2 separate regions of the Homo sapiens genome follow, and region 1 is linked to region 2. The links are contacts of gene promoters, found by promoter capture Hi-C in human tissues and cell types (Jung and others, 2019). All regions are on one chromosome and are shown on one strand. The core of a region is centred on a gene start or on the middle of the fragment in contact, and the rest is flanking DNA. Distances in the headings are between cores, read along the strand shown. Region 1 overlaps PI4KA (phosphatidylinositol 4-kinase alpha). Region 2 holds the start of SERPIND1 (serpin family D member 1).

The links. The method cuts DNA at HindIII sites, captures the fragments that hold promoters and counts their contacts. A contact is called where the count stands out against the background at its distance.
Region 1: a contact is called between a fragment that was not itself captured here and the fragment with the promoter of SERPIND1 in region 2, in 3 of the 25 tissues and cell types used here (IMR-90 fibroblasts, dorsolateral prefrontal cortex and lymphoblastoid cells).

Annotation. Positions count from the first base shown.
Region 1 is chr22:20,804,674-20,810,171 of GRCh38, reverse strand. PI4KA (phosphatidylinositol 4-kinase alpha) reads left to right here. Exons shown (of 55, transcript NM_058004.4): 10 at 2,714-2,810; 11 at 5,007-5,198. Among named protein-coding and RNA genes, the nearest start is that of SERPIND1, 33 kb to the right of the region's middle. The HindIII fragment of the contact is 6,426 bases long and covers 1-5,498 here.
Region 2 is chr22:20,771,948-20,777,273 of GRCh38, reverse strand. SERPIND1 (serpin family D member 1) reads right to left here and starts at 3,161. Exons shown (of 5, transcript NM_000185.4): 1 at 3,129-3,161. All of the region lies in intron 19 of PI4KA (phosphatidylinositol 4-kinase alpha), which reads left to right. The HindIII fragment of the contact is 14,489 bases long and covers 1,643-5,326 here.

The DNA of each region.
Region 1 (5,498 bases), core at 1,959-4,458, 33 kb before region 2:
AATCATTACATTGGTGCTGGGAGGTCTCAAAAATCTCGGGGAACATTTGGGTCAGGCCCCTCTTGAGGGTTAGGATGCAGACAGGTTGTCATTTGCCAGGCTAATTATTACCATGGGTATGTCCCTGACCCAGATTCCTTATTGAAGCCTGGTGTTCCTTCTCTCACCTGATTTTAAGACACACAGTGCCTGATACCACTGTACCTGGGGCTCAGGTATGAAGCAGGGAAGGAACTACCAGGGCCCTTCATGTGCTGTAGACCATGTCTCTTCCTGCTTCGTACCCCTGCCAACGAGCTATTGCAGATGTGAGATGTATGTGCTGGCCGTGGTTTGGTCTGGGTTGGTTCTTGGTTAAGTAACAGAGTTCTTATAACTCCCCAAGTTGCATCTGGGCAGTTCCTACCTTGTCTCCAACCCTTTTTCAGGTTGTCGTTCTGCCCATTGGCCTGAGCTTTAACTCTCTCACTCACTCACTATAGACTGAGCTTGTGGTCTCAGAGACCTTTGGTTTTCCATCATAAGTGTTTGATCATTTGTGACTGAGGGCAGACCAGGAGGACCAGGGCGAGAGCTGGGCTGGGCAGTTAGACAAGTGGAGACTTAGTGGGCCTGCACTCCACCTCTGGGACCCTCCTTCTCATTGAACCAGGGCAGTTTCTGGTATTTTTTGTTTTGTAATTTGTTCTTTAGCATAAACATCCATTTGAAGAAACAGTTTCATAGCTAAAAAAAAAAAAGTTTCTTGTAATCTTGACCTAGAGTCTGCAATATATTACTCAGTATCCATAATCAGTGTAATAACCACTACCAATTATTACATGCTTATTATGTGCCAGAACTTTACTCACTCACTCCTTGAATCTCACAACAATCCCCAGTTTACATATGGGGAAACTGAGGCTTAGCTCAGGAACTTTATTTACATAGCTCGTGAGTGATGGAGCTGGGCTGTGGGCTTGTAAGATGGTTGGTCTCCAAGGCTCCAAAGTTTAACACTCGTGTTGTCTGGACTCCCAGAGTCAAAGCCCTGAACTGCTTTAACCTCTCCCAGTCTCATTTCTCCATTTCTGCCCTGTGAGGACCACCAGACGTTGTCTGTAAAGCCATCATTGCAGTGCTGTCAACCACAGCTCTTCCTGTCAGTGTCCTCCTGGGAATTGGCATGACTCTCACACTCTCCACATGATTCTTTTTTTCTCCACCTGCTCACTCACCCTCTGTCAACCTCACACTGCATGCCCTATCCCACTCTGGCCAACTTCTGGCGCCTTAAAGATTTGCTATATTTGCAGACCACTTTTATACTTGTCAAGAATTATAATATTAGCTGGGCATGGTGGTACATGCCTGTAGTCCCTGCTACTCAGGAGGCTGAGGCAGGAGGATCACTTGAGCCCAGGAGTTCAAGGCTGCAGTGAGCTGTGATCATACCACTGCATTCCAGCCTGGGGTACAGAGTGAGACCCTATCTCTAAAAAAAAAAATGAAAAAAACGAGTTATGATAAACCATAATTTTCCATCCTACTCAACTAGGAGTATATAGAAGTTAAGGACTGTTATCTTTTTTTTTTTTTTTTTGAGACGGAGTCTCACTCTGTCACCCAGGCTGGAGTGCAGTGGCGTGATCTTGGCTCACTGCAAGCTCCGCCTCCCAGGTCAAAGCAATTCTGCCTCAGCCTCCTTAGTAGCTGGGATTACAGGTGCACGCCACCACGCCCGGCTAATTTTTTGTATTTTTAGAAGAGACAGGGTGTCACCATGTTGGACAGGCTGGTCTTGAACTCCTGAACTCCTGATCTCGTGATCCACCCGCCTTGGCCTCCCAAAGTGCTGGGATTACAGGCGAGAGCCACTGCACCCAGCCTTTTTTTTTTTTTGAGACAGAGTTTTGTTCTTGTTGCCCAGGCTGGAGTGCAATGGCGCGATCTCTGCTCACCACAACCTCTGCCTTTCAGGTTCAAGCAATTCTCCTGCCTCAGCCTCCCAAGTAGCTGGGATTACAGTCATGTACCACCACGCCCAGCTAATTTTGTATTTTTAGTAGAGACAGGGTTTCTCCATGTTGGTCAGGCTGGTCTCAAACTCCCGACCTCAGGTGATCCACCCTCCTTGGCCTCCCCAAATGCTGGGATTACAGGCGTGAGCCACCACACCCGGGCTGGACTATTATCTTTCTTAACTCATTAGACCTTGTGTGAATTTTTTTTTTTTTTTCAGAAGAAGAATAGTGCTACATTTCAAATAGATTCCTAAAGAATAATTTAAAATGAGTTTTAATTACAAAACATAAGTTGTATCTGAAGGTGTCCTGGCTGTAATTTGTATCCTTGGGATGATGGACAGTGTGGATCCCTTACTCTGGTGGCCTTTGTCAGTCTTCCTCCTTCACCACTTCCCATGTCCCTGTCTGGGCCAATGATGGCCAAAGATGGTGAGCTTCAGCCACAGCAAGGAGGTTCTTCCTACTAGGGTGCAGATGGCTGCTCCCCCGCAGGCATCTCTGGACTGCATGAGCCTCCTGTTTTCCTTGGTCTGATGCTTAAGAGGATGAAGACAGTAGAGTGTCCAAGTGATGAGTCATGATAAACAGTTGCTTCATTTAGAATGCTAAGTCACGAATCACCATTCCGCTGGGCCTTGCTGTGAAGGCAAAGGGTGGGCAGAAGGGCATTTCTGTTCTATAGTCATGTGTGTCTGCCTTCCCTGCAGGCCAACCCCAGTGCTGATCTCTACTACACTTCCTTCAGTGACCCTCTCTACCTGACCATGTTCAAGATGCTGCGTGACACTCTGTACTACATGAAGGGTGAGGACAGTTTGCCCATGTGTTTGTGAGTACAGCAAGACTGGCTCCCAGGCCACTGTCGCATGCTAGTGGTTGCAGACTGGTACTCACTTTCTGCTGGGGCCACTGAAAAACACATATGAGCAAAGTGGTCATGTTACTGAAATTTTGGGAAAAAAGCAAATTTAAAAAATCTGTCCATGATCCTGCAACCCCGGTACCATCGATGATGGCTCCTTTGCTGAGTTTATTTCCTAAGGTGTTTATCTAAAATGTGCATGTTATATTGTCCTAAGGACAGATACAGTTTTACATATCCATTTAGATAGTTTAAAAAATTAAAAAAGAGGCCAGGCACAGTGGCTTATGCGTATAATCCCAGCACTTTGGGAGGACAAGGTGGGCTGATCACTTAAGGTCAGGAGTTCGAGACCAGCCTTGCCAAACAGGGTGAAACCCTGTCTCTACTAAAAATACAAAAGAAATTAGCCAGGCGCAGTGGCATGCACCTGTAATCCCAGCTACACAGGAGGCTGAGGCAGGAGAATCGCTTGAACTTGGGAGGCGGAGGTTGCAGTGAGCCCAGATCGTGCCACTGCACTCCAGCCTATGTGACAGAGTAAGACTCCATCTCAAAAACATTAAAAAAAAGAAAATGAAGTACTTGTAATACATGTAATCTGTTAATGTAGAGGTACTAGCTTTTTTTTTCAGACAGAGTCTTTCCCTGTCGCCCAGGCTGGAGTGCATTGGCATGATCTGGGGTCACTGCAACTTCTGCCTCCCAGGCTCAAGCAATTCTCTCGTGCCTCAGCCTCCCAAGTAGCTGGGATTACAGGCATGTGCCACCACGTCTGCCTAATTTTTGTATTTTTAGTAGAGATGGGGTTTTACCATGTTGGCCAGGCTGGTCTTGAACTCCTGGCCTCAAATGATCCACCCACCTTGGCCTCCCAAAGTGCTGGGATTACAGGTGTTAGCCACTGCACCCAACCTGAGACAATAGCTTAATAGTTAACATGCACACACAACAATTTAGCATTTTCTTCTAGTCCCTCTTTCATGAATTTTGTTTTTCCCAGAAGTGAGGAAACAATCTTTTATGCATTTTACAAAATGTTTTTCCTATGCTCTCCCCTCACACTGTTGAGTGTTCTTCGTAAGCTTAAGTTTTGATGAGCACATAATATTTTGTCAGGAAGGTATACCAAAATTTAGTAACCACTTTCCTAATCTGATTCTGAACATTCCTCAGAAGCTGAGTCATCTGGGCCACGGCAAGGGTTGAAACTCCCTAAGAAGGGGCATCAGGGATTACCCCTGCCCTCCCCACCACCCCTGCTGTGTGTTGCTGGCTGCCTTGGCTGGGCTGACTTGTGCGTGCATCATGGTGGTTCTCCTGAATTTTCCAGGCCCTGGGGATGAGAGTTTGAAAAGTCTCTCAAACTCAGGGTGAGTGCTCTGAAGATCCAGATAATTCTCTTCTCAAGGCTGCAACCAGTTTTTGCCCTTATCTGACAACCTTTTTCTTTCTTTTTTTTTTTTTTTTTGAGATGGGAGTCTCGCTCTGTCGCCCACGCTGGAATGCAGTGGCACGATCTTGGCTCACTGCAAGCTCCGCCTCCCGGGTTGACGCCATTCTCCTGCCTCAGCCTCCCGAGTAGCTGGGACTACAGGCGCCCACCACCACGCCCGGCTAATTTTTTGTATTTTTATTAGAGATGGGGTTTCACCGTGTTAGCCAGGATGGTCTCGATCTCCTGACCTCATGATCTGCCCGCCTCGGCCTCCCAAGTTGCTGAGATTACAGGCGTGAGCCACCGCGCCTGGCCCTGACAACCTCTTTCTTAAAAGAAAAAAAAATCACAGAAGTATCTCATATTGTCAGTGGAAGTAGTTCCAGCAACGATACTTCCCAATTTATATGTTTCATGTATTCAGGTTTTAGTACGTTGACTGCTTAAAACAAAGCATGGCTGTAACATCCCTGGGAAATGATCATTTCCTCTGATTGCCAGGTTGTGTGCACGTGGAGGACAGCTGTGCAATTCCTATCCAACTTCTTTCCAGTGGGCATTCTAGGACCCACAGTGGCCAGTAGCAAATGCTACTTTTCTGGGGTTTTTGTTAAAAGGGGAAGACTGTAGCCGCTGCTAGCACTGCCTGTGTTCTACTGTAGTTTTGTTCCCAGCTGTGATGCCACACTCTTTCCTACAGACCTCCCGACCTCTTTTGTGAAGGAGATCCATGATTTTGTGCTGGAGCAGTTCAACACGAGCCAGGGGGAGCTCCAGAAGATTCTACATGACGCAGACCGGATCCACAATGAGCTGAGCCCCCTCAAACTGCGCTGTCAGGCGAATGCTGCCTGTGTGGACCTCATGGTGTGGGCTGTGAAGGACGAGCAGGGTGAGACAGACTGCCTTGCCTCTCATGTGAGCTCCAGGCATGACCCAGAGGCTTTCTTGCCACAAGTTTCCCCAAACTACTTCTAGAACACTTGGCTCTGTTACCAGCACAGGCAGTTGCAGTAGGCCTCCTGGGCACGTGCAGAGTGGAGCATTAGCCCCTGCTGTGCTCTGCACGTCTGGTGTCCTGTCCTGCATGGAGGGCACTGGACCTGGGAGGATGGGGATGCCCGTGGCCTCAGGGCCTGTGTATGCTCTCTGCTGCATCTTGCTGGTTCTTTAGGCTTTTCTGTGGTGACAT
Region 2 (5,326 bases), core at 1,912-4,411:
TTGCACTCCAGCCTGGGCAAAAAGAGCGAAACTCCGTCTCAAAAAAAAAAAAAAGAAAAGAAAAATAATTAGCCTGGTGTGATGGCACACGCCTGTGGTCCCATCTACTTGAGAGGCTGAAGTAGGAGGATCACTTGAGTCTGCAGTGAGCCGTGATCACGCCACTACTGCACTCCAACCTGGGGGATAGAGTGAGTCCTTATCTCAAAAAACAGAAAACAAAAAAAAAACAAAAAAAAACTGCCTTTTGTTAAGCTTATTTTGTGTCTGTGACCATTTCCTATTAGATAGATATTTGAGGCCCAGAATATCTGCTGCCAGTTGAGGCCAGGTAAGAGTTACTGGCTGCTCTTGTTAAGCAAATATTTGAACTCAGTAGGCCTGAAGATGGGGTAACTGTTCGGATACTCTGCTTGAAATGCTGTCAGTGTGGTTAATGTTGATAATGGCCTCTGTTGGATGCCTGACACGCTGTATAAGGCACTTCGTGTAACTTAGTTTCATCCTCCCAACATTTTATATATCAGGAGACTGAGCCTTTCGTCACTGTCACTAATAAGTGGCAGTGGCTAGATTCGAACCAAGTTGGTTAAGCCTCTAAGCCCCACATCAAGCGCTCAGCCTTGTTCGCTCTGGAGTACCAGGATGCTTCCAGACTCCCTGGCCGTGCAGAGCAGCTTCCTAGCTGTTTTCCCAGTGCCAGTCCCATTCCTTGGGTCTTCCCCTTATAATACTGTTGAAATAGTAAGTTCAAAGTTTGTTTTAGTCACAACTAAGAAAGACTTTTGAATTGCACATTTTGGAGCAGGAAAGTCACATTGTTTCTGACTCAAAATGCCTGTTGCCTTTTCCAGGTCCCCATCTCAGCACCTGCCTCAGGCTGCAGTGCCACTAGTTTACACACGGGAAAACAGTTTCTAGAAACGATTTCTTTTTATTTTTATTTTGAGACGGCGGGGTCTCACTCTGTCACCCAGGCTGGAGTGCAGTGGCACAATATTGGTTCACTGCCACCTGTTCCTCTCAGGCTCAAGAGACCCTCCCACCTCAGCCTTTTGAAGTAGCTGGGACCACAGGTGTGTGCCACCAAACCCAGTTAATTTTTTGTGTTTTTGGTAAAGATGGGGTTTTACCATGTTGCCCAGACAGGTCTCAAACTCCTGAGCTCAGGCAATTCTCCTGCCTTGGCCTCCCAAAGTGCTGGAATTACAGGTATGAGTTACCATGCTCAGCCTCTAGAAATGATTTCTAATGTATGTAGCTGCAAATAGAACTGGGCCCAGTTTCTGAATGGCACTTTGAGTAACTTAGCTTCATCCTCCCAGCATTTTACATATCAGGAGACTGTGTATCAATAGCAACACACTTTTAAAAGTCAGGAACAAAGAAAGTAAGCAGCTGGTAGAAGGCTCCTTGCCCAACTACACTTCAAGTGTCCTCCTCTTATCACTTCTTGGCCTTTTGGCTAAGATCAAGAAGAAGAAGACCAGGCATAGGGGCTCACACCTGTAATCTTAGCATCTTGGGAGGCCAAGGCAGGAGGATCGCTTGAGCCCAGGAGTTCAAGACCAGCTGGAGCAACATAGCAAGACCTCATCTCTATTTTAAAAAAGAAAGCCAAAAGAAGAAGGAACAAAGGGGGAAAATGTTTTCTTCTCAGATAAAAATAAGGTTAAAGAACAAAACAAAAACCAACTTGAATAAATAAGCATTCAGGAAAACGTATCTGAGGCCAGATAGAGTGGCAGAGTAAAGACATGCATGTTTTATCCCGGTATTCAGAAGTTATATTTGGAAACTTCTTATACCCTGTTCCCACATTATCTGATAAAAAGCCAAAAATAGTTTTCGTCATTCCCTTACCAGAGGAAGGAGAAAATATCTCTGATATCTTTTATGGATTGAAATTAAAGATCTGAAGGTAAATCTTCCTGATGTTTTGCTATTTAGTATAACAAACATTGTAGAAGACGTTTAAAAACTATCACTAGGTTGTGATTAAATCCAGATTACTGTTTGAAGAGAAACAATATATTTTAAAGATAAATCATTCAAAAGTTTGTTTTGCTTTTTTTTTTTCCTGGGAACTTCATATTGTGCTTTCTTGCTAATTGCCAGAGCTGGGTTGGCCTTTTCAGTCACGCATCAGAGCATAACACTTGATAAACCGTCATCCCTCCTGGTGTATGGTCTCCAGGCCCAACAGAGCAGGCAGAATGGGAGAGAAGTAACTGCCTAAAGTTTGGAAAACTTTTTATTTTGAAGTAAGTTCAAACTTCCAAAAATGTTGAAAGAATAGTGTAGTAGAACAACTCCTGTATACCCGTACCGAGATTTACCAGGTTTAAAATTTTGGAACCTTTGCCCTGTCATTATCTGTGTGTGTGTGTACGTACGTGTGTGTTCTCACAGGCATGCACATACACATTTTTTCTTCTAGACCATTTGAGAGTAGGTCTCCTATATCTTGTTCCTCTAACATTTTTTCTTTTTTCTTCTTTTTTTTTTTTTTTTTGACGGAGTCTAACTCTGTTGTCCAGGCTGGAGTGCAGTGGCACGATCTCCGCTCACTGCAACCTCTGCCTCCCGGGTTTAAGCGATTCTCCTGCCTCAGCCTCCTGAGTAGCTGGGATTACAGGCGCGTGCCACCACGCCCAGCTAATTTTTGTATTTTTAGTAGAGACTTGGCTTCACCATGTTGGTCAGGCTGGTCTTGAACTCCTGACCTCGTGATCCACCCGCCTCGGCCTCCCAAAGTGTTGGGATTACAGGCGTGAGCCACTGCACCCGGCCCCTCTAACCTTTAATACTAATACTTCAGGGAAAATACCCAAGAGCAAGGATATTCTCATACATAATCACAGGACAGTTATCCAATTCGATTAATTTAATATAAGTACAATATTTTCATCTATTCCACAGCTCCTATTCTAAGTTTGTCAACTCTCCCAACAATGGAACTGACACAATTTTATAATAGGCACACTGAAAAATGAAACCATTTCCCACTTCTAAAACAGTGTAGAAAGCTTCTGAATTCTTAGTTTGCTAGAAAAATGAACCAGTTGCCTATCCGTAAACACCAAAAATAATTTATAATCAGCAGAAACATTAGAAACCCAACTTACCTCTGTGTTTCTGAGAAGTGGCGCTTCAGAGATGAAAGCAGCCAAGGTCATCAGTGGGATTTTGATGTGAACTTTGGTGCTGGGCTGTTGCTGCATATTTTCCAAAGTAAATAAGTCCCAATCCAAACACCAGGCAACCAGCTTGGTCAGCACAAACCCCCTCAGCTGTGCCTTTGATAACTGTAGAGTGGCTTGCAGCTCCTCATCTCCAGTTCTTAGAGCTGACACTTTGAGTATATGACGGTTACTGTGTTAGCATGCACACATAGCCTTGGTGCAGGAGCAGCCCCTCTTGAGGTCACCACATAAACAAGGCGCTCTTCAGGCCTCTGGGGACCAGGCTGCATTGAGGGTAGCTGAAAGTAGAGACCATGCATCTGCCTCCAACTGTGTCCTCTCTTCTGGGATGATCACAGCATCTGCCCTCCACCTGCTCTCCAGGACTGATGTGGCTGGCTCAGCTACTAGGCGGGTGTCCCTGTCCTTCCAAGAGCTCGTTCCTCAGTGAAAGGTGGAGGAGAGAGGACAAAATTAGTGGCTTACAGAATAAGGGGATTGTGGCATGGACCTTTCTTCAGTCAAGGGTTGCTGTGTTTGTTGCCAGTAGGTGCAGCCCAGCACTCCTGTCTGTTGTGGGACAGATAGGACTATTACTGAGCAGTGCCTCCCAAATTCAGGGCCACTTAGGCATTCGTGGGGATCTCTGAGGCTGTGATACATTTTGTGTTTATGGGTGTTTGTTTGTTTGTTTGTTTGTTTTGAGACAGAGTTTCGCGCTGCTGCCCATGCTGGAGTGCAGTGGTGCGATCTCAGCTCACTGCAACCTCTGTCTCCCAAGTTCAAGCGTTCTCCTGCCTCAGCCTCCTGAGTGGCTGAGATTACAGGCGCACACCACCATGTCCAACTAATTTTTTGTATTTTTAGTAGAGACGGGGTTTCACTATGTTGGCCAGGCTGGTGTTGAACTCCTGGAGTGAAGTGATCCTCCCGTCTCGGCCTCCCAAAGTGCTGGGATTACATGCGTGAGCCACCACGCCTGGCCCTATGTGTTTTTTGAGACAGGGTCTCACTCTGTTACCCAGGCTGGAGTGCAGTGGCGTGATCTTGGCTCACTGCAGCCTCAACCTCCCGAGCTGAAGCAATCCTCCTCACCTCAGCCCTGCAAGTAGCTGGGAATACAGGTGCACACCACCATGTCTAGCTAACTTTTGACTTTTTTGTAGAGACAGGGTCTCACTATGTTGCCTAGGCTGGTCTTGAACTCTTGGGCTCAAGTGATCCTCCTGCTTCAGCCTTGCAAAGTGCTGGGATTACAGGCATGAGTCACTGTGCCCGGCCTTATGATAATTTGTTTTTTAATTTGTGTTTTAAATTTTATGATCTAAAAAGTTTTAAGAATATTCTGGATTGTCTGGAAGATCAGCTTATCACAGAGACTGCTCCTCAAGAGCATGTTTGGGAGTGTCGGCACCCAGAGTCTATCTGAAGAGAGAATGTGACTCCTAGGAGAATCTGCGGGTGTGCAAGGGGCCCATGGGGGTGTCTGTGCATTGCTCCGTTTGAGAAATTCCAGAGTGTAAAGGTCCATTGTGTTCAGGACACAGACCGGTGGTTGTGTCTGAGTCTGATTTTGCACTCTAGCTTTTGTCAGAGCTGTCTTCTTAGAGCCTTCATCTGTCACATACAATACTGAGTCTTCAGCGTGGCACCACAGGCAGAGGCTGCTGTCTGTGCCCACACTCCTCGTGGGCCCACCTCCCTCATTCTCTGTCTTGTTCTCACACATGCAAAGCCCGGCCCCAGCACAGCCCTGGCACTTGCTATTCTTTCTGCCCAGGACACCATCCCTGCAGACCAGCAGGTGGCCGCTGCTCTCACTGTTCGCTCTTGGTTTCACCGAGGCGTCACCAGCCACCCTGGCTGAAATTGCCCCTTGGCCTCCAGCTCTCAGTATTCTGCTCTCTGAAATGAGGGTGACAGTTACACCTACTGCATGAGGTTGTTGTGAAAATTAAATGAGATACATTAATTTATCTCATTAATTAAATGAGAAAATTAAATGAGGTTAATGAATGTGTGGAAAGCACATAGAGTGGTGCCTGGCATTCAGAAAATGTTAGTCCTCATCATTTCATGGTATTACATATTTATTCACAGAAATGGTCTGGGAGGGGACACAGCATTCATTTTTCATTCTA